Linked DNA regions of Homo sapiens: all the other regions are linked to region 1. Evidence: promoter capture Hi-C in 16 types of primary human blood cells and fetal thymus (Javierre and others, 2016). All regions are on one chromosome and are shown on one strand. The core of a region is centred on a gene start or on the middle of the fragment in contact, and the rest is flanking DNA. Distances in the headings are between cores, read along the strand shown. Region 1 holds the start of OMA1 (OMA1 zinc metallopeptidase). Region 2 has its middle 8.8 kb from the start of FYB2. Region 3 has its middle 8.0 kb from the start of C8A. Region 4 has its middle 6.6 kb from the start of CYP2J2. Region 5 overlaps HOOK1 (hook microtubule tethering protein 1). Region 6 overlaps HOOK1 (hook microtubule tethering protein 1). Region 7 overlaps LOC105378758 (a long non-coding RNA gene).

What was found. Contacts are between HindIII fragments. The CHiCAGO score rates a contact against its expected background, and 5 or more counts as called.
Region 2: a fragment that was not itself captured here is called in contact with the fragment with the promoter of OMA1 in region 1 in 11 of 17 cell types (naive CD4 T cells, total CD4 T cells, naive CD8 T cells and 8 more); the score reaches 30.3 in naive CD4 T cells.
Region 3: a contact is called between a fragment that was not itself captured here and the fragment with the promoter of OMA1 in region 1, in 4 of 17 cell types (naive CD8 T cells, total CD4 T cells, total B cells and 1 more). The highest score is 7.5, in naive CD8 T cells.
Region 4: a fragment that was not itself captured here is called in contact with the fragment with the promoter of OMA1 in region 1 in 1 of 17 cell types (total B cells); the score reaches 6.2 in total B cells.
Region 5: a fragment that was not itself captured here is called in contact with the fragment with the promoter of OMA1 in region 1 in 2 of 17 cell types (naive CD4 T cells and activated CD4 T cells); the score reaches 6.7 in naive CD4 T cells.
Region 6: a contact is called between a fragment that was not itself captured here and the fragment with the promoter of OMA1 in region 1, in 6 of 17 cell types (total CD4 T cells, non-activated CD4 T cells, total B cells and 3 more). The highest score is 7.2, in total CD4 T cells.
Region 7: a fragment that was not itself captured here is called in contact with the fragment with the promoter of OMA1 in region 1 in 10 of 17 cell types (naive B cells, activated CD4 T cells, total CD4 T cells and 7 more); the score reaches 10.6 in naive B cells.

Annotation. Positions count from the first base shown.
Region 1 is chr1:58,545,238-58,548,203 of GRCh38, forward strand. It overlaps OMA1 (OMA1 zinc metallopeptidase), which reads right to left and starts at 1,489. Exons shown (of 9, transcript NM_145243.5): 1 at 1,466-1,489. It also overlaps a transcript of DAB1 not described here. RefSeq lists enhancers at 898-1,524, 1,738-1,927 and silencers at 1,138-1,227, 1,238-1,337. The HindIII fragment of the contact is 5,811 bases long and covers 662-2,966 here.
Region 2 is chr1:56,826,704-56,829,669 of GRCh38, forward strand. It overlaps a transcript of FYB2 not described here. Among named protein-coding and RNA genes, the nearest start is that of FYB2, 8.8 kb to the left of the region's middle. The HindIII fragment of the contact is 1,344 bases long and covers 747-2,090 here.
Region 3 is chr1:56,845,332-56,848,297 of GRCh38, forward strand. No RefSeq gene overlaps it. Among named protein-coding and RNA genes, the nearest start is that of C8A, 8.0 kb to the right of the region's middle. The HindIII fragment of the contact is 6,184 bases long and covers 1-2,966 here.
Region 4 is chr1:59,931,901-59,934,866 of GRCh38, forward strand. It overlaps a transcript of CYP2J2 not described here. Among named protein-coding and RNA genes, the nearest start is that of CYP2J2, 6.6 kb to the left of the region's middle. The HindIII fragment of the contact is 1,898 bases long and covers 600-2,497 here.
Region 5 is chr1:59,859,864-59,862,829 of GRCh38, forward strand. HOOK1 (hook microtubule tethering protein 1) reads left to right here. Exons shown (of 22, transcript NM_015888.6): 15 at 325-465; 16 at 2,921-2,966. Among named protein-coding and RNA genes, the nearest start is that of HOOK1, 46 kb to the left of the region's middle. The HindIII fragment of the contact is 1,619 bases long and covers 620-2,238 here.
Region 6 is chr1:59,829,305-59,832,270 of GRCh38, forward strand. It overlaps HOOK1 (hook microtubule tethering protein 1), which reads left to right. Exons shown (of 22, transcript NM_015888.6): 4 at 2,859-2,909. Among named protein-coding and RNA genes, the nearest start is that of HOOK1, 16 kb to the left of the region's middle. The HindIII fragment of the contact is 1,907 bases long and covers 512-2,418 here.
Region 7 is chr1:59,795,490-59,798,455 of GRCh38, forward strand. The region is part of intron 3 of LOC105378758 (a long non-coding RNA gene); the gene reads right to left. Among named protein-coding and RNA genes, the nearest start is that of HOOK1, 18 kb to the right of the region's middle. The HindIII fragment of the contact is 2,627 bases long and covers 172-2,798 here.

The DNA of each region.
Region 1 (2,966 bases), core at 239-2,738:
CAAGCAAACTCCTTCTCATTTCTCATGACTTGTGTAAAAATTTTAAAAGAATCCTATTGACACAGAAGGTATAAGCAAAAGCCCCAACACTACGCATATATAATTAAAACCATTATCATTTCTATCACTGACAACCAAGTGTCGTTTTGAATAGAAACAGTGCCTGATATTTTGTAATACCCGGTTTATCCTGAAGAAAGGGTAAAGAATGAGGGAAGAAATCTATTCATGCATTTTCAAGGAGCCAATCACTAGACTACAGAGCACATAAGAAAAAAAAAAATCAGGGCTGACATATTCTCTTCAAAGAGCTGTGGCAGGTCAACAAACATAGCTGGCAGACTTCTAGGATAACAAAATTAATGATGTGAGAAAATTAAACAATTTGGATTGTTAGCCTCTACGAACATTTCAGATCCTTAATTCTTTAAGTACCATCTCCGAATGAGCAAGTGCAGCACTCACTGGCACTCACAGCTGAAGCCTGGAAGACAGTTTTAACAACTCTTGCTGAAAATGACTATTTCTTCTCTAGTTTCTATGGAAACAGCTGTCAGATTGGCAAAAATAGGACATGTACTTTAAAATAATCATTCAAGCAAAGTACACACATGATGGAAGGCTTTAAAAAAGAATTGGACGGCAGCAGACTTGGTTCTTAAGCTTCCAAATGTCAGACTACACCCCTTCACCCCGGCTGAGAATGACGGAGATGAACCTAAATCCTTTTAGCGAGGGTTGCACGACCTTGATCAACGCCTGAATGCCAAATAAGGGATTTTCATCTCCCTGGACTACAATTTCTTGTTGAGGATTGCACGGCACAATAAAACTGTTGCTCCACACACAGGCGACATTTAAACAGTATACAGTGAGTTCTGTAGACGAGTTTACGAGGAAATTGTTAAAACTCCCCGGAACTGCTTAGACGGGGAATGTTCTGGTTTGCCCTGCCGAGTTTAGGCTGGAAAACGTGTTCAGTTTCTCCTGAAGAGGGAAGGGGTGAAAGAGACGAATGCCCGACGCGCCGGGAGGCGGTCCCCTCTGGCAGAGGTGCCGGGTGAGGAGCCCGAAGCCCCGCGGGTGAGAAACCCTGCTCTGAAAGCGGAGCCGCGGATAAGGGCGGGCTGAGGGGGAGGGCAGGCGGCCCACGAAAGTACTGCCACGGGGCAGACACACGGGGTCACCGGCGTGCCCCGGGCAAGGCTAGGGGAGAACCGGGCTCCCCCAGGACAGATCCCCTCCGTCTCCCGCCCCGGCGCCCCCCGCCCCTCCCCTCCACGCAGCCTTATCGCCCACCCACGCCTCCTCCCGTACCCCCATCCCCAAGGATCCCCACTCCTTGCCCGGGCGCCCCCGCAGGCGCTCTGCGCTCCGCCCCCTCCCCACTGCCGCACTCTGCCTCCTCCCCTGGGCACGATCCTACTCGGAAAAGCTGGGGAAAAGCGTCACCGTGAGGACTGACTCAAGCAGAAGCGAAAGCGGTGACACCGCAGACCCGACCTATGCGCAGGCGCGCACCCGCACTTCCTGCCCGCCATACCGGCCGGGGCGCCCTTCGCTCCGCCCACACCCGGCAGTCAATACAGCCGCCCAGAGTCGTTCTCCCAGCTGCCCCGGGCCCCGCGGAGACTGTGGCGCTCTAGCGCCTCCGTGTGGCTTAAGGCGGGACATGGCCCTGGGCTGGGCTGCTTGCCTAGGAACAACTTTCTCCCGTCTTTGGTGAGTTGGGTCCTCTAAAGAATGATCCACGCAAGGCTGTGTCCGTTGTAGTCTCTACGGCAGTACCGGCCAAAAGGGAAGAGACTCGAAGACTGCCAAAAGACGAAGGCTTCCTGGTTCTGAATCTGCATTCATAGAAATAGTCTTTGGAGTATGGGAACAGTGCTTTCATATGATTTTTGGAGGGACGCATTTTAAGAAAGATGAAGTATAATCTTAAGTGTCTGGAGGTTAAAGTAGCTGGCTCCAAAATTATGTGTATAGTATGTTTCATTCATTTCACCAAAACATATTTCTTGAGCATCAACTACATTTTAAGTGCCAAGGATGTAGCAGTGAACAAGACAGACCTGAATTTCGTGAACTTTATATCACAGTGAGGAAAGACAGGCGATTAAAAAAAAGTGTACAAATAAACACAAATAAATAAAAGTGTACAAATAAGCCAGTACAAATAAACACTGGATTGTGATGGATGAGTAGTGAGGTCTCATATTAGTTTATTATGTTTACACTCTGTGCACAATGAAAACATCTCAAAGGACATAAACACTATGTCAAAGGACATAAACACTATGAACAATTTTAGGTATCTCTTTTGGAAAATGTGTAAGTTACTGTTTCGTTTATCTTATGTGTATTTTATGATTTGCCTTTTACTTTGAAAGGGATATCCTGGAAAACCCCTGACAACTGGACCCCTAAAAACTGAAGTAGGAGGTCCTTCAGTCTTCGTAGGGTTTATCTCCCAAACTCTGGAGTGCACATGTCTTACCAAAGTTTCCAGCATGCTAGCCACCTCTTGCTCATCTTGCCTGGTTAGCATAATGTCATTGGTGAAATAGATGGGTGTGATGTTCTCTGGAATTTCCAGTTGATCCAGCTCCTTTTGGACTGCGCAGAGCCATTATGTCATTATCCTGGGTCCACCTGATTTCCAAAGGGGCCAGACTGGCAAGTTAAGTAGAGATATGGCAGGGATGACCAACCACTCTTGTATATTTCAGGTCTTTAATTATGACATTAATCTCCACCATCATCTCACTATCCCCTCAGATGAAATATCGGTTTTGATTTATTATCTTCACTTGGAAAGAAGGACAGCTTCAGAGGCTTCCCATTGGCTTTCCCCACCATGATAACTCAAGACCAAGGACCCTGAGCTTCTTACCAATGTGGAGATTGCTCCAGCTGCCCAATATGTACTCCCAATTATGCACTCAGGAACTAAGAAAATGACTACT
Region 2 (2,966 bases), core at 169-2,668, 1.7 Mb before region 1:
CAACAACACAACTGGTTTTATTCCTATCCATATGGTAGCCTCTGTGAGTCCTTCATAAACTCACCACCCTCCCAAGTATTTCTGAGGATCTTCAAAGGCAGTTTCCCAAGGGCCCCCAAGTCCGACTGTCAGCTGGACCCATCACAAGTGGCATTCACCATGGTCTTTCTTTCCAGCTCCAATCCAGGGCCCACAAAGCTGTTGGAGGAATTTCACTACTGCCACCAGAGGCCATCCATTATGACAACACCAGTGTTCTTGTGTGGGCTTGCATCAGACTAGGCATGAAGAACTTCTGGTGCATAAACTCATTTTATTTTCACAACAACTGTGAGTGGGCACTCACCCCCCATTTTACAGATGAGAAAGCCAAGACCCAGGGAAATGAGGGTCACGCAGATCAGGTTAAAAGGCTGGTCAGTGGGAGGGCTGGGGTTTGCCTTTGGTCAGCCCCATCCAGAACATGTATTCTTACCTGCTGTGCATGGGCCATACACTGAGCCTCTGGACTCCAGCTCAGCTCACCACCTTGCCTTTGTCCCTCTGCCCATGTGCCTGTCTCTGTCAAGTAGGCAGTGGGGCCTTCAAGGGCAGAAATTTGTTCTTACTCATTCTCTACCTAGCTCAGTGCTAACCCTACAATAACTGGTTTGTTTTTTTTTTTTTTTTTTTTTTTAATAAACATGTTACCTTTCTGGTGAGATTTCATTTGGTGGGATTATTTTCCTTTTCTCATTTTAGGTCTAAGCTTCTTCTCAATAGCTGGTCAGCCTCATTTACAGCCAAGGCTTTAGAAGGACCAAAGTGATTTGAGAGATGTATGGGTCAGGAAAGGGTAGAACCATCCTCCACTGTAGTGGGAGCGTTAACTGCTGGCCATTCCCAGATCCCTTTTAAATGCCTGGTTTCTATTCATTTGGCCTCCAGACCAATATGGAAATATAATAATGCTCTGGGCAGCACTGAGGAGACCATGCGGCCATGTGCTGGCCTCATGCATAGGGGAGCATTTCTGCAGCCAGCCTGTTATCCAAATCTTCCACTTTGGCCATGAATGTGCATCTTCTCATCATGTGCAAATTGCACTGGGCTCTAGGAATAACTGTAAATTGGCCTCACTCTGGCTAAAGTCACATATGAGACCTGAAGAGCAGAAGGATAATGGATCCTTTGCCATTGTCCTAAGGGCCCCTGCCAACACTCTCAGTTTTTCTGGATTCTCTAACTGTTCTGATTGTGATGATCTCACTCCACACCCAGTATCTCACCATCTGTCAGTGACACAGATGCTATGCAGGACTTGAGTGTGGGTTAACTTGAACAAGAGGACTGGGGATGGGGAACCTAGTTAGGAAAAGTGGATAACTTTCCCAGAGCCATGAAAGTGTCTTGGAAAGTATAAATATAAACATGATTTATGATAAGTAAACATGTTTCTCCATTCACCCATTCACTGGTTTTATTATTAAACCGACCATTCTCAGGAACTCCTGGATGGGGAGATGAGCTGATGTATCTGCCAGGGTCCAGTTAGGAAAACAGAAATCTTTCTACATATTGGAAGCAGGAAATTTAATATGGACAATTGGTTACACCAGGAGAGCTGTGAGGATACCCAGGGATTAGCAAGAGCTGGGAGCCACTAAGCTACAGGGACAAATTGGAGGTGGTGTATTAGGGTCTAGGAGCTAGAATCACTCAGAGGAAGCGTGAGAATCAGTAAGGGAAAGTAATGGCCACCTCTACCTTCTGAGGCTTCTAGAGAAGAGAAGAAGTACCCTGGCTTCTTCCTTCCTCCCATCTTTCAGTAGTCTCCTGTGAGTGCCTTCCATTGGCCAAGCCCAGACAGAAGCCAACTGATGCAGAAGCCTGAGACCTGCAGCCTGTAGGGGTCAGAGGTCCTGCCATATGGGGGAGAACAGGGCAGGGCTGAAGAATGCATCTGTGGGCAACCTCTCTCATGGCAGGCATAAGGGATACACATAATACAAGAGAAAACAGTAAATACCATAATTGACTTTTCTTAAGCCACTAGAGCAAAATAGAAGGAGCAATGATGTCCTTTTTTTGTGGAAGGAAAGGGTTCAGAAAGCTTTTTGGAGGAGATAGCATGAGCTGGGTCTTGATGAGGCATGAGAGTTTGACATGAAAGCAGGGAGAGGCTGTTTCAGAAGAGGCAACAGTGTGATCGGGGCACAGCTTCTGGAATGGGTCTGGCATTCTCAGGGAGCAGAGAGAACTCTGGCTCTGGCAGAAGTGCAGGGTGTGTCAGGAAAGCCATCCCAGGAGGGAAAGACTACACATCCCAGAATGTGTAGCCACAATGCGCGCTTTGAATTGTGTGCTGAGGACTTCAGATTTAGCCTGTAGGCTGGGAGAATTCTGCTGCAGGGTGGCTGAAAGAGGGTGGTCCAGATCATCTTGGATGTAGGGGAAGAGTGTGACACCCTGCCGCCTTCCTGTGTCTCCTTCTCCTCCCTGCTCTTCCTCCTCCTCTTCTATTAAGCAAATGGAAAACTCATGCACCCTCCTGAGTGTTTGCTCTTCAACATTTATTCTAATGCCGGGATCCAAAATATTTTTGTAACTCTCCATGGACAGTTGCCTTCAGATCCTAAGATATGTTATTTAAGAAGACAAATCTTTGCTTTGGATTTGCAAACATAGATTCAGTTGTGGTTTTCTTTTCTTCTTTTTCATTTTTTTGAAACATTACAGGGGCTTGGGAATTAAATCAGATGCATAATTCAGTTGATCAAGCCATTATGCTTTTTGTTAAAATTGAGGCATAATTAATACGAATTGAGCTGTGGCTCAAATATTCATTGGAATATGAAGTTCACCTCTCCAGGTGACTGCTCAGAAGAGCAGTACTCATTCGAATATCTAAGTAGTCTGTTTAAAAAATCAGTCTCATGATTTTATGATTAAGTATCATATGATTTACCTTAGGCATGAAGAGCAGA
Region 3 (2,966 bases), core at 228-2,727, 1.7 Mb before region 1:
TAAGGTTGCCTACTGGAGGAGGCAGTGGAGATAAGCTAACCCTTAGGTGTGGACCCTGAAGTCCGGAGAAGTCACATGACTGTCCCAAGTTCCTGCAATGGGGTCTTGATACAGGTTAGCATAAGAATCCAGGTGCCTAACTCTGGAGATTCTGAGTTCCCTCCGGGGAGTCCCCAAGGGCTTCCCCTTGTGTGGCAGGTGCATGGTGTTCCAGGTCCTGGGAGTTGGTCTCTAACCTGGTTTCTTGGCTTCTGATCCCAACTCCCCGATCCCTGCCCCTCACTGCATCCTCCAAGAGGATCCCAGAGTGCAAAGTACAAATCTGATCAGGAGGCTCCACAGCCTCAATTCATTCAGTTGTACCTCCATGTCCTTAGGGATGAAATACATATCTGAGTCTTAGCAAAAACCAACAACAAAAAACCAAAACCACAAAACCCAAAGTTGATGGATGTGGCTTTGCCTGTCCTGCCAATCCTTCTCAAGGTATACTTAGTTCTAGCCCTCCAGATAGCTGGTTGAGCCCCAAGATGGCCATGCTCTTTGGTGCCTTACTGGATTTGCTTATTCTATTCTCAATGTCTGGGATGTTTGCTCTTTCTTCCTCTCTCTGTTTAAAGCAACTTCTGCATCAACCAAGCTCCTATCCCCTTCCTTCTGCTTCCTTCAAAGCATAAGTCTCACATCAGCAGCTGTTTGTGGCTGCTCCCAGTTTGGCCATCTGCAGCTCTCCATGGCACACTCACCCCTAGGCATGGCATGGTGATGGGCAGGGGATGTGTTCTCTTTATCTCTGAGTGTTCAATGTCCACCACAGTGTCTAACCCTAAGCCTTGATGGAATGAATGCAATAACTGATTGCCATGTGCATTATATCACTGACTATAACATAATAGTGAAAAACTTGTCAGCACTCCCACAGCTCAGGTTCTGACTGATCAATCCATTGGGTCACTATTGCTCTGAGACTTAAAGGCTACAATTTCTTTAAGGGTCTCATTTAAAATGTAAATACTCATGGGCTGACAATATAAAGATGCCTCAAATACATAGAAAAATGGCACACACACACACAGTGGTCTACGTCAGTTTCTCAGTGCCATTACTTGTGCCGTTACTGATTGTGCCATTACTGATTCTTCAGATGGCATCTTGGGCACCGCTAAGAGTAAGCCCAACCCAAATAGCCATAGGTTGGTATTTCTGGAATAGAGAATCCTGACAGAAAGGATGGTGTATTCATCCATTTTGTGCAGTTGATAAATATACCCAAGACTGGGAAGAAAAAGAGGTTTAATTGGACTTATAGTTCCACATGGCTGGGGAGACTTCAGAATCATGGCAGGAGGCAAAAGGCACTTCTTACACGGCAGTGGCAAGAGAAAATGAGGAAGATGCAAAAGCAGAAACCCCTGATAAAACCATCAGATCTTGTGAGACTTATTCACTACCATAAGAACAGTATGGGGGGAACCGCCCTCATGATTCAAATTATCTCCTACCGGGTCCTTCCCACAACACGTGGGAATTATGGGAGTACAATTCAAGATCCGATCTGAGTAGGGACATGGAGCCAAACCATATCATTCCACCTCTGGCCCCTTGAAATCTCATGTTCTCACATTTCAAAATCAGTCATGCCTTCCCAACAGCCCCCAAAGTCTTAACTCATTTCAGCATTAACCCAAAAGTCCACAGTCCAAAGTCTCATCTGAGACAAGTCAAGTCCCTTCTGCCTATGAGTCTGTAAAATCAAAATCTAATTACTTCCTAGATACAATGGGGGTACAGGTATTGAGTAAATACAGCCATTCCAAATGGGAGAAATTGGCCAAAACAAAGTGGTTACAGGGCCCATGCAAGTCCAAAATCCAGCAGGTCAGTCAAATTTTAAAGCTCCAAAATTATCTCCTTTGACTGCACGTCTCACATCCAGGTCACACTGATGCAAGAGGTGGGTTCCCATGGTCTTGGGCAGCTCTGCCTATGTGACTTTGCAGGGTACAGCCTCCCTCCCAGCTGCTTTCACAGGCTGGCATTGAGTGTCTGTGGCTTTTCCAGGCAAGTGGTGCAAGCTGTCAGTGGATCAACCATTCTAGGGTCTGGAGGATGGTGGTCCTCTTCTCACAGCTTCACGAGGTGGTGCCCCAGTAGGGACTCTGACCCCACATTTCCCTTCTGCACTACCCTAGCGGAGGTTCTCCATGAGCACCCTGCCTCTGCAGCAAACTTCTGCCTGTCATCCAGGTGTTTCCATACATCTTCTGAAATCTAGATGGAGGCCCCCAAATCCCAATTCTTGACTACTGTGCCCTCTCAGTCTCAATACCATGTGGAAGCTGCCAAGGTTTGGGGCTTACACCCTCTGAAGTCATGGCGTGAGCTGTGCATTGGCCCCTTTCAACCATGGCTGGAGAGGCTGGGATGCAGGGCACCAAGTGTACACCACATGTACACAGCATGGTGACCCTGCGCCCAGACCACAAAACCATTTTCTCCTAGGCCTTCAGGACTGTGTTGGGAGGGGCTGCCATGAAGACCTCCGACATGCCCTGGAGACATTTTCCCCATTGTCTTAGGGATTAACATTCAGGTCCTCGTTACTTATGCAAATTTCTGCAGCCATCTTGAATTTCTCCCTAGAAAATGGGTTTTTCTTTTTTATCACATCATCGGGCTGCAAATTTTCTGAACTTTTATGCTCTGCTTCCCTTACAAAGCTGAATGCCTTTAACTGCACCCAAGTCACATCTTCAATGCTTTGCTGCTTAGACATTTCTTCCACCAGATACCCTAAATCATCTTTCTCAAGTTCAAAGTTCCACACATTCCTAGGGCAGGGGCCAACGCTGCAGGTCTCTTTGCTAAAACATGACAAGAGTCACCTTTGCTCCAGTTTTCAACAAGTTCCTCATCTCCATCTTAGACCACCTCAGCCTGGACCTTATTGTCCACATCGCTATCAG
Region 4 (2,966 bases), core at 299-2,798, 1.4 Mb after region 1:
AAAAATTTCTATTAGTGATCTTACATCTTCTTCCACAACATAGATACATTGTTTGACAACTAGAAGCCATAAATGTTTTTTGAATGCTTTAAGGATTTAGTTTAAACATTAATTGATGTGGTGTATTATTTTTACTAAGTAGTAACTTGGTCATCATAACTTTTATGTTTGCTTAGGATTTATTTTTTATTATATAAAAGTTGAAGTTATTTCTGTCATAACTGTAAGCAAATTTAACCTAAGTGTGTGAAAAGTATTCTGAGGTACTCTGTATATTTTTAACGTCCTGAAAGTCTGAAGGCTAATCTATACAGGTATGTTTTAGGATATTCCATAGGAAAAAAATCATTACTTTTACTATCAACCTTTGAGATTTCATGAAGATTTTATTGAGGAGTAATAATACATGCTATAAGCATTGACAAAACTCTGAAAGTTTTTTTCTATAAGATATAAAATAATATCTAAATTGAGTCAGCCATAGGAGATTCAATTTAGAGTGTTTTGTGTTTTATATTCATCTAATAATGTTCAAATTGCAACTATAACATTTCAATATTTGTCAACATGCTTTTATAAAAGTAAGTTCTAAGTTTCTAAGCTTCAAAAAAGTGAAGAAGTAGTAAAAAGCAAAAATTGAGGGAGTTTTTTACTAGTAGACATGCTTTACAAGAACTAGTAAAAGAAGTTCTTTAGAAAGAAGGAAAAATATTTAGGCCAGAAACTGAGATATACATACAGAAAGGAAGAATACCAGAGAAGAGATAAATGAAAGTAAGATAAATATTTTATTTTCTTATTCTATTTTTTTTTTTTTTGAGACAGAGTTTTGCTCTGTTGCCCAGGCTGGAGTGCAGTGGTGCAATCATGGCTCACTGCAGCCTCTGCCTTCCAGGTTCAAGCAATTCTTGTGCCTCAGCCCCCTGAGTAGCTGGGATTACAAGCACATGGCATTATGCTTGGCTAATTTCTGTATTTTTAGTAGAGACAGGGTTTCACCATGTTGGCCCAGCTGGTCTCGAAGTCCTGACCTCTAGTGATCTGCCCTCTTCACCCTCCCAAAGGATTTTTCTTATTCTTAATTGATTTAGCAGATAAGTTTGCTCCAAGTAAAAATAACAGCAATGTATTCAGTGATTATAGCTTATTGATAAGTGAAATGAATGATGCAATGTTACAAAGAATGCATGGAACAAATCAGAAAAATTCTATTATAAGGTACTTGCACTACCCATAAAGCAGTATAGTATTATTTGAAATGATTTCAATCAGTTGGAAATGTGTAGTGCCAACTCTAAGGCAACCTTAAACAAGTTTAATAAAAGAAATACAATTGATATGCTAAGAAAGGAAAGAAAGCAGAATCATATAAAATGCTCAATTAAAATGACACAAGGCTAAAAATGAGTGCAAGACAGAAAAGAAACAAAAACAAGAGCAATGAGTAGAAAACAGATAAGAATAGGGTAGATATTAACCCAACTACATCAATAATCATTTTAAGTGTCAATAATCTAAATACACCAATTAAAAGATATAGTCTATCAGAGTGGATTAAAAAATATCCCTTTCAGATTGTTTGTTGTTAGTGTATAGAAACACAGCTGATTTTTGCATGTTGATTTTGTATCCTAAAACTTTGCTGAATTTGCTTATTAGTTCTAACAGTTTTTTGGGGGGTGGTGTGTGGAATCTTTAGAGTTTTCTACATGTAAGATTATGTCATCTGTGAACAGAGATAATTTACTTCAGCATTAAAAAGAATAGACTTAACTAAGGAGACAAAAGATTTGTGCATTGAAAACTGCAAGACATCGCTAAAAAAAATTAAAAGACACAAATAAATGGAAAGACATCCCATGTTCATAGATTGAAAGACTTAATATTGTTAAAATGTCCATATTACCGAAATTAATTTGCAGATTTAATGTCATCCATATCAAAATCCTCTTGACTTTTCCTTTTTTGCAGAAGAAATTAAAAAATATTCTAAAATTTATATGGACCTACAAAAGACCCTGAAAAAGTGAAACAATTTTGAGAAACAAAAACAAAGCTGCAGGCACAAAACTTTCCTAATTCCAAAACATTACAAACTACAGTAACCAAATAAATCTGATACTGGCATAAAGACAGACCTAGAGACCAATGAAACAGAATAGACAGCCCAGAAACAAATCCATGCATATATGAGCAAATGGTCTTCAACAAGGATATCAATACTACATAACGGGGAAAGGACAGTCTCTTCAACAATGGTGTGGCAAAACTGTATAACCACATGTAAAAGAATGAAATTGAACCCTTATTATATAACACAGACAAAAATAAACTCAAAATGGATTAAAAACCTAAACATATGACGTGAAACCCTAAAGCTCCTAGAAGAAAACACAGGGGAAAGACTTCATAACAGTGGTCTTAGCAATGATTTGGATATAACATCAAAAGCAGAGGCAACAAAAGCAAAAACATACAAGTGAGAATATCAAACTAAAGCTTCTTCACAACAAAGGAAACAATCAATGCAGTGAAAATACATGCAAATCGTGTATCTGATAGGGGGTTGATATAAAAATATGTAAGAAATTCCTACAAATTGATAGCAAAAAATCCCCAAATAACCTGATTTTAAATGGGCAAATGACTTGAATAGATATTTTACTAAGGAAACATACAAGTGGGTGAACAGGTATATGAAATGATGCTCAATGTCACTAATCATCAAGGAAATGCAAATCACACTCATGATGAGGTATCACCTCATACATGTTAAGATAACTATTATCAAAATGTCAAAAGATAATATGGGTTGGCTAGGATATGGAGAAAATAGAATCCTTGTGCACTGTTGGTGGGAATGCAAACTGGTACAACCATTATGAAATATGGAGTTTCTTTTAAAAATTAAAAATAGGATTACCATATGACCCAGCAATCCCACATCTGGTTATATATCCAAAGGA
Region 5 (2,966 bases), core at 179-2,678, 1.3 Mb after region 1:
CAAAGTAATATAATTTCTATTATCTCTTCAGGAATGGCATAATAACAATTTAATGATTTATAGCATAATCTTATATGGTACCTATAAAATTTGACTGCTTTTTTTTAAAGGCACAGTCTTGCAGTTTACATAATTTTTTCTTAAACACTTTCAGAAGCTTTTGTTGGAGTTTAAGAGTTTCATACCCTACCAGCTATGCTAGCTGGTCCTGCTTGCATCTTAAAATGGTAGCTATTGAGTGGACAGGAATTTCCTTTTTTTAACTAAAGAATATAATGACTCATATTTTTAAAAATTAAAAAAGATTTTGCTTTGTAACATCAGGGAGGTGTTTATTCGACTGCAACATGAAAATAAGATGCTTCGCTTACAGCAAGAAGGCTCTGAGAATGAACGTATTGAGGAACTTCAGGAGCAGCTAGAACAGAAACACCGTAAAATGAATGAACTGGAAACTGAGCAGAGGTGATATGCTCCTTAGTAACTGAAAATCTTGGTGATTTTATTACCGAGCCATAAAATCTTGATTCACAGAAATGGAAAATATTATTGTAGCTAAAGTAATTAGAATTACCTAGAAATAGTTTAATATTTTTGTTAGTAGTCTTTCATCACTATAAGCTTCTCTCTGTGAAAGAAGTCAGGTGATTCATTTCAGTTATATTTATAAAATATATGGATAATCCATTAATTTCAGCATTCTTGGTTAACCAGGCTACTTATTCTTTTTATTCTTTTTGAGACAGGGTCTCCCTCTGTCGCCCAGGCTGGAGTACAGTGGCGTGATCTTTGCTCATTGTAGCTTCCACCTTCCCAGTTCAAGTGATTCTCATGCCTCGGCCTCCTGAATAGCTGCAATTAGAGACATGCACCACCATGCTTGGATAGTTTTTGTATTTGTTTTCTTCTCTTTCTTTTTTTTTTTTTTGAGACGGAGTCTTGCTCTGTCACCCAGGCTAGAGTGCAGTAGCGCGATCTCGGCTCACTGCAACTTCCGCCTCACGGGTTCAAGCGATTCTCCTGCCTCACCCTCCCAAGTAGATGGGACTATAGGCACACGCCACTACGCCTGGCTAATTTTTTTTTGTATTTTTAGTAGAGATGGGGTTTCACCATGTTGACCAGGCTCGTCTCAATCTCCTGACCTCATGATCCACCCACCCTGGCCTCCCAAAGTGCTGGGATTACAGGCGTGAGCCACCATGCCTGGCCAATTTTTGTATTATTAGTAGAGATGGGGCTTCACCATGTTGGCTGGGCTGGTCTCGAACTCCTGACCTCATGTAATCCACCTGCCTCAGCCTTCCAAAGTTGCTGGGATTACAAACATGAGCCACTGTGTCTGGCCCACCAGGCTACTTATTCTTGAATTTCATTTAGATATGTTCACAATTCAGAAAGTTTGACAAATGAATAAATGACAGTTTGGCTTTCTACTGAAGTCTAGTGCATAGATAAGATCTAGATTGTGGAATCAAATTTAAATCCCACTTCTAATTTAACTTATTAACTGTTTCTGGACAAGTTACTTAAACTTACACTCAGTGTCTTCAGGTGTAAATACAAGTTGTTAGGAAGACTGCAGATAATGAGCTTAAAGCAAATGATGTGCTTATGTGGTATCAATGAAGTGCTCAAAACTTATTATATGCTTTTCTAAGTACTTTTTTGCTATTAACTCAGTAAATCCTCATAATAACTCTATGAAATAGTAACCATGTAGTAACCAATAGCTCTTTTTCTATGGATAAGGAATATGGATACAGAGAAGTTAAATAACATACCTAAAGTTATACACCTAGTAGTTCTGGATCCTCCATAATGAACTCTCTGTCAATCTGATTACTGAGTCTTTACTCCTAACTACTATGGTAACTTCCCTGTTATAAATGGTGTACTTACTATAAGGGTATTTGGATTTATTTAACCTTTATTGAATCCTAGACACCAACAGAAATTTTAGACATACTTGAATCTTACCTTTCTCAAACTTGTGTGTATAAGGTTACATAAACGGTGGTTAAAAGAAGAATAACAATTTAGTTTTCTAAAGAGACCATTAAATATTACTATTTTATTCAGTTCAATACCAGTTGTTAGCACTTTTCTGAAGAGACCATTAAATATTATCATCTTACTCAGTTCAATACCAGTTGTTAACACTTTTCTGAAGAGACCATTACATATTACTATCTTATTCAGTTCAATACAAGTTGTTAGCACTGGGGAAATCATTTAAGCTTTTAAGGAATTAACATAGGAAAGCAGACATGTAAATAGATAATTGCTATATTATGTGATAACTGCAACAGTGGAATATTATAGCAGGCAGGTGAGTGTGTATGTGTGGATACACATAGAGGGAGAGGGAGATACTAACTCTTGCTAGTAACTTCCAGTGGAAGTAACTCTTAAGCACAGTTTTAAAGAATGAGATTTTGCCACATTAGAATCTGAGTTAGTTGCTAGTGGCACTCCCTTTAATTTAAATTTAAAAAAACTTGTGGAAATGATTGGAAAATGGTGACCTTCCTCTTCCAATACGCTGTGAAATCTGAAACAGAAGATGGAAATCTAGTTTTCATTCATTAAAAATACAACTGTAGAAAAATTGAGCTGGTTTTCTGATTTTTCTACCAGTGAGTGCGGTGTAGAAATTTTTTGCCACCGACATTTAAGTTCCTTAAAATTTTAAATGTAGGCATATATACTTTCAGGAAAAAAGTTTTCTTTTAAAAAGTATTTTCTTAGAAGTAGCCTGCCCTACTTCATATTGTACCTAGGCACAGATAATTATTCCGCATTTGTCATTGCTATAAAAATATTTTTTACTTAAATTGCTAACTGAATGTACCTTTGTAGATCCTTAACTGCTTTGACTTTCAATACAAGTAAATGCTTATGACCCATCTTACAATAGGCTGAGCAAAGAGCGTATTAGAGAATTGCAGCAGCAGATTGAGGAC
Region 6 (2,966 bases), core at 215-2,714, 1.3 Mb after region 1:
TGTTGATGGATGTTTGAATTTTTAACATTTTTGACTATTGTGAATACAACAGCTACAAACATTCATATATGAATCTTTGGATAGATGCATATTTAATTTCTCTTGGGTGAATTTCTGGGTGGAATTGCTAAGTTGTATAAGTATGTGCTTAACCTTATAAGAAACTGCCAAACTGATTTTCTATTTTTAAGTCAGTTTTGTTGTGTCTTGTAGGACATTTGTTTCATACAGGATGTATGATTTGTTGATACACAGTCCTTAACTGAATTACTGTGCTAATAATGTGCTAATAACTGATCTTTAATGATGTTTCCTTTTCTTTTCCTGCTATTGGTTATTTGTGTCTTTTGAATTTATTTTCCTTGATAAGTCTGGCTAGATGTTTTTCAATTTTACTTATTTATTTTTTAAAGAATTAGTGTATGTTTTCTATTCCATTGATTTTTCTGATTTTTATTATTTCCTTTCTCTCACTTAACCTGTTCTTCTTTTTCTTGCTTCTTAAGGTGGAAGCTTAAATAATCAACTCTAAACCCTTTTTTCCCCTAATATTAACCACCATCTTAGCCACATCCCACATATTTTGACAGACTGTTACTTTATTTTCATTCAGTTCAAAATATTTGGTAATTTCCCTTATAAAGTTTTCTCCTTTGACCTATGAGTAAATTAGAAGTAGGTAATTCAAATTCAAAATATTTGAGGATTTTCCAGTTGCCTTTCTTTTATTTATTGGTTTCTAATAGATCTGAGACAATACTCTGTATTGAGAAGTTATTTTACATTTATTGAGTCTTATTTTATGACCGAACCTATGGTCTGTCTTGGTGAATGTTCCATGTGCATATGAAAACAGCATGCATTCTACAGTTGTTATATAAATATAGATTTTGTTAAATTTGTTGATAGTGGTATTTTCCATATCTTTATTGATATTTTTTCTTATTATACTATGTGTATAGTGTAGTATAGACTCTGTAGAGAGCCCTTAAATCTCTAATGATGATTTCGATTTTGTTGATTTCTCCTTTGCATTTTTTTGCTTTTTACTTCATGTATTTTGAATTTCTGTTATTAAGTTTATTACACACTATATTTCTTGTGTGTTCTTGAATGAATTCACTTATTATGAAATGCTTTTCTTTATCCCTGGTAATATTCTTTTATTTGAAATCAAATTAGCTCTAATATTAATGTAGCCACTACAGATTTTTTATGATTATATTTTTCATTAGTATTTCTTTTTCCATTCTTTTAATCTGCCTATGTCTTTTTATTGAAAGTGTTTCATGTAGACACCTAATAGTTGGGTCTTACATTTTTATCCAGTTTGACAATCTGTATTTGATTCTTTATTGTAAAAAACCTTCTATTTCTTACATTCATGTTTTTGTTCAAATCCTTGAACATCTTTAAACTAGAAGTTTTAACATTGTCTCAATTCTTTTATCTTTCATTTCTGAACCCATGTGTATTGACTGAGTTTTCTCCTAATTTTGGTTCCCACTTTCCTGCTTCTTCACATCTGTAGTAATTTTTTAATTGGATGCTAAACATTATGAATTTTATTATTGAATGCTGATTTTTTTTTTTAAGTTTTTTTTTTTTTTTCCTGAGACAGAATTTCGCTCTTACGCCCAGCCTGGAGTGAAGTGGTGCAATCTCAGCTCACTGCAACCTCTGCCCCCGAGGTTCAAGCGATTCTTCTGCCTCAGCCTCCCGAGTAGCTGGGATTACAGGTGCCCACCACCATGCCTGGCTAATTTTTGTATTTTGAGTAGAGGCGGGGTTTCGCCATGTTGGCCAGGCTGGTCTTGAACTCCTGACCTCAGGTGATCCAACTGCCTCAGCCTCCCAATTAAGTATATTCTTTTGAGGAGTGTTGAATTTTCTTCTTGCAAGCAGTTAAGGTACTTGGAATCAGTTTGATCCTTTAAAGGCCTATTTTTGGCTATTGTGGGGGGCAGAACTAAAGTTATTCTTTCCTTTAGGACTAAAGTAGACTCATTACTAAGCTGTGACCTTTTTGGGGGTCTTTAGTGAATGTTTTGTGCGTGTAGCATGGTGTCTTCATTCTGGCTAGTGAGAATTTCAAAAATTTTTTGGCCTGTATAATCTTTGGGAATGGTTCAGTTTATAGTTCCCTGGATTGTTATTTCTTTGGAAAGAACATTCAGTTTCACCCATCCACATGCAAACTGGTATTTAGCCAAAGAGTCAAAGGAACCATTTTACACAAATCTCCAGAGCTTGCTCATTCCATAGCTCCCATCTTTTCATCGTCTGCCTTGCAAATTCAAACTGCCCAGGCCTTCCTGAACTTCTAATGTCTTATCTCTTCAATCGGTGAGAACATCAGGCTTGGTGTTTGGTTTCCACCTCCCTATGCTGTAGTCTGAAAATTGCCTCAAGACAGAAAGCTTGTACTAGTGTAGGGCCCATTTTCTGTTTGTTTTCATTCTTTCAGAAAGCAGAGTTCTGTACTACTTACTTGTCTAAAGCTTGCAAACAATTGTTTAATGTATTTTGTCTTATTTTCTAGTTATTAGTGACAGGAGAGAAAATCAAAACCCAGTTAACTTGCTCATGACTGCAGCTGGACATGCCTGTGTATAAATTTTTACAGTGGGCCCTTGAGTTCATTGTGACCCACTTTAAATAGAATCACCCTACTTAACTAAACACTGATTAAATCTCTGATGGTTAAAAAGCATCATGTGTTTGTATTTATAGAACTCTATTATAATGTTTTTGTTGTTCTTTTTAATTAGGGGAAAGTTTTTATTGTCTTTCATGCTGACATAACTTTTCTTTCATTATTAATCTGAAATAAGAATCTCTTATTTTTTTCACATTAGGCCAGTAATGTAAAGAAGGTCCTTCAAGGAATTATGAGTTATTATCATGAGGTATGAAAACCATCTGACTTTGTTTAAATGCATCATGCTATACGAAAATTACTTTAA
Region 7 (2,966 bases), core at 235-2,734, 1.3 Mb after region 1:
ATACAAAAATCAACTTGAAATGGATTAAAGACTTAAATGTAAGACACAAAACTATAAAACCACCAGAAAAAAACATAGGAGAAACACTTCTGAGCAAAGATTTAATGATGAGACTTCAAGAGCACAGGCAACAAAAGCAAAAATGACAAATGGGATTATATCAAACTCAAAAGCTTCACTGTAACAAAGGAAACAATCAAGAGAATAAAGAGGCAAGGGATTAATAACCAGAATACAGAAGGAACTCAAACAATTCAACAGCAAAAAAAAAAAAATCTGATTTAAAAATGGGCAAATGATCAAAATAGACATTTATTTTTTAAAAAGACATACAAATGGCAATGTATATGCAAAAGTGCTCAACATCACAAACCATTAAGAAAATTTAAATCAAAACCACAATGAGATATCATCTCATCTAGTTAGACTAGCTCTTATTAAAAGCACACACAAAAAAATGCCGGCAAAGATGCAGAGAAAAGGGAACTCTTATATTCTGTTAGTGGGAATGTAAATTAGTATAGCCATTATGTAAAACAGTATGGAATTTCTTCAAAAAAAATGAAAATAGAACTACCATATGATCTAGCAATTCCACTATTGGTTATGTATCCAAAGGAAAGGAAAACCATATGCTGAATTGTGATCTGCATCCCTGTGTTTATTGTGGCACTATTCACAATAGGCAAGATATTGAATCAACCTACATGCCCATCAGTAGATGAATGGATAAAAAAAATGTCATATATATATATGTGATATATATATATATCACAATGAAATATTATTCAACCATAAAAAAGAATAAAATTCTGTCATTTGCAGCAACATGGATCATCCTAGGAGATATTATGTTAAGTGAAATAAGTCAGACACAGAATGATAAATACCACATGTTCTCACTCATAATGCGGAAACTAGAAATGCTGAGCTCATAGAAGCAGAGAGTAGAATTGTGGTTACCAGAAAAGGGTAGGTAAAGGAGGGAGTTAGAGAAGTTAGTTAAAGGATACAAACTTACAGCTAGATAGGAGGAATAAGTTCTAGTGTTTTATACACCTGTGGGATGACTACAGTCAACAGTAATATATTATAACATTTCAGATAGCTAAAAGGAGGATGCTGAATGTTCCCAACACAAAGAAATGATGGATGTTTGAGATGATGGATATGCTAATTACCCTGATTGATCAATACACATTGTATGCATGTATTGAAATGTCACTCTGTACCCACTAAGTATGTATAATTATGACGATTTCAATTAATTTTTTTGTTTTTAATTTTAATGAAGTTTATGTTATCTATTTTTTCTTTTGTTGCTTGTGCTCTTGATACCTTAGCTAAGAAACTATTGCTTAATCTAAGGTCAAGAAGAGTTACACCTATGTTTCCTTTCAAGAGTTGTATAGTTTTAGCTTTTACATTTGAATTTTTAAATCTGTTTTGAATTAATTTATGTATGTGTTATGAGGTAAAGATCCAAATCCATTCTTTGCCGTGTAGACATTCGTTTGTCCAAGCATCATTTTTTGAAAAGACAATTCTTTCCCCCATTGAATGGTCTTGACATCTTTATTAGAAATAAATTATCCATAGATATATTGATTTCTTTCTGGACTCTCAATTATACTCCAGTGACCTATATATCTACCTTTATTCCAATAGTACACTGTTTTGATTTTTGTAACTTTGTAGTAAGTTTTGAAGTATGGGTTTAAGTTCTTTTTGCTTTCTTTTTCAGGATTTTGGATGTCCTGCATCTCTTGCAATTCCATATGAATTTTAGAATCAGCTTCTCTATTTGTTCAAAAAAGAAGTTGAAATTTTGATAGAGCTTGCACTGAATCTGTAGATCAATTTGGGGAGTATTGTCATCTTAATATTATATCTTCCAATCCATGAACATGAAATCTCTTTCTACTTATTAAGGTTCTCCTTAATCTCTTTCAGCAAAATTTTATAGTGTTCAGTGCACAAGTGTTACAATTCCCTGGTTAAATATATTCTTAAATATTTTACCGTTTTGATGTTACTTTATTTTTATTTTTCTGTTTGTTTTTGTTTCATTTGTTTGTTTTTGAGACAGAGTCTCACTCTGTCACCCAGGCTGGAGTGCAGTGGCATGATCACAGCTCACTGCAACCTCTGCCTCCCAGGTTCAAGTGATTCTCCTGCCTCGGCCTCCTGAGTAGCTGGGACTACAGGCATGCACCATCACACTCAGCCAATTTTGTATTTTTAGTAGAGACAGGGTTTTGCCATGTTGACCAGGCTGGTTTTGAACTCCTGACCTCAAGTGACCCGCCTGCCTCAGCCTCCCAAAGTGCTGAGATTACAGGTGTGAGCCACCACACTGGGCCTGATGTTATTTTAAATGAAATTGTTTTATGGTTTCTTTTTCAGATTGTTCATTACTCGTATATATAAATACAATGGGGTTTTATATACAATACAGATATCCATTGTAGAAATACATGGAGTTTTGATATTATATTCTGCAACTTGGCTAAATTCCTCTATTAGCTTGCTATAGTCTGGATGTGTGGCCCCTCCAAATCTCATGTTGAAGTATGAACTCTATTGTTGAAGGTTGGCCTAGAGAGAGGTGTTTGGGTCATGGGAACAGATCCCTCAAGAATGGCTTGGTGCTCTCCTCACAGTAATGAGTTCTCACTCTGTTAGTTCATATAAAAGCTGGTTGTTTAGAAGAGCCTGGGGCCTCTTGGTGGCTTCTCTCTTGTTCCCTCTCTCACAGTGTCACATGCCTGCTCCCCCTTCCTTCTGCCGTGAGTATAAGCTTCCTGAGGCTTCACCAGAAGCCAAGCAGATCCTGGTGTCATGATTGTACAATCTGCAGAACTGCGAGCCAAAGAAAACTCTTTATAAATTACCCAGTCTCAGGAATTCCTTTATAGCAATGCAAAACAGAGTAATGCATAGCTTTAGTAGTTTTTTGTTTGATA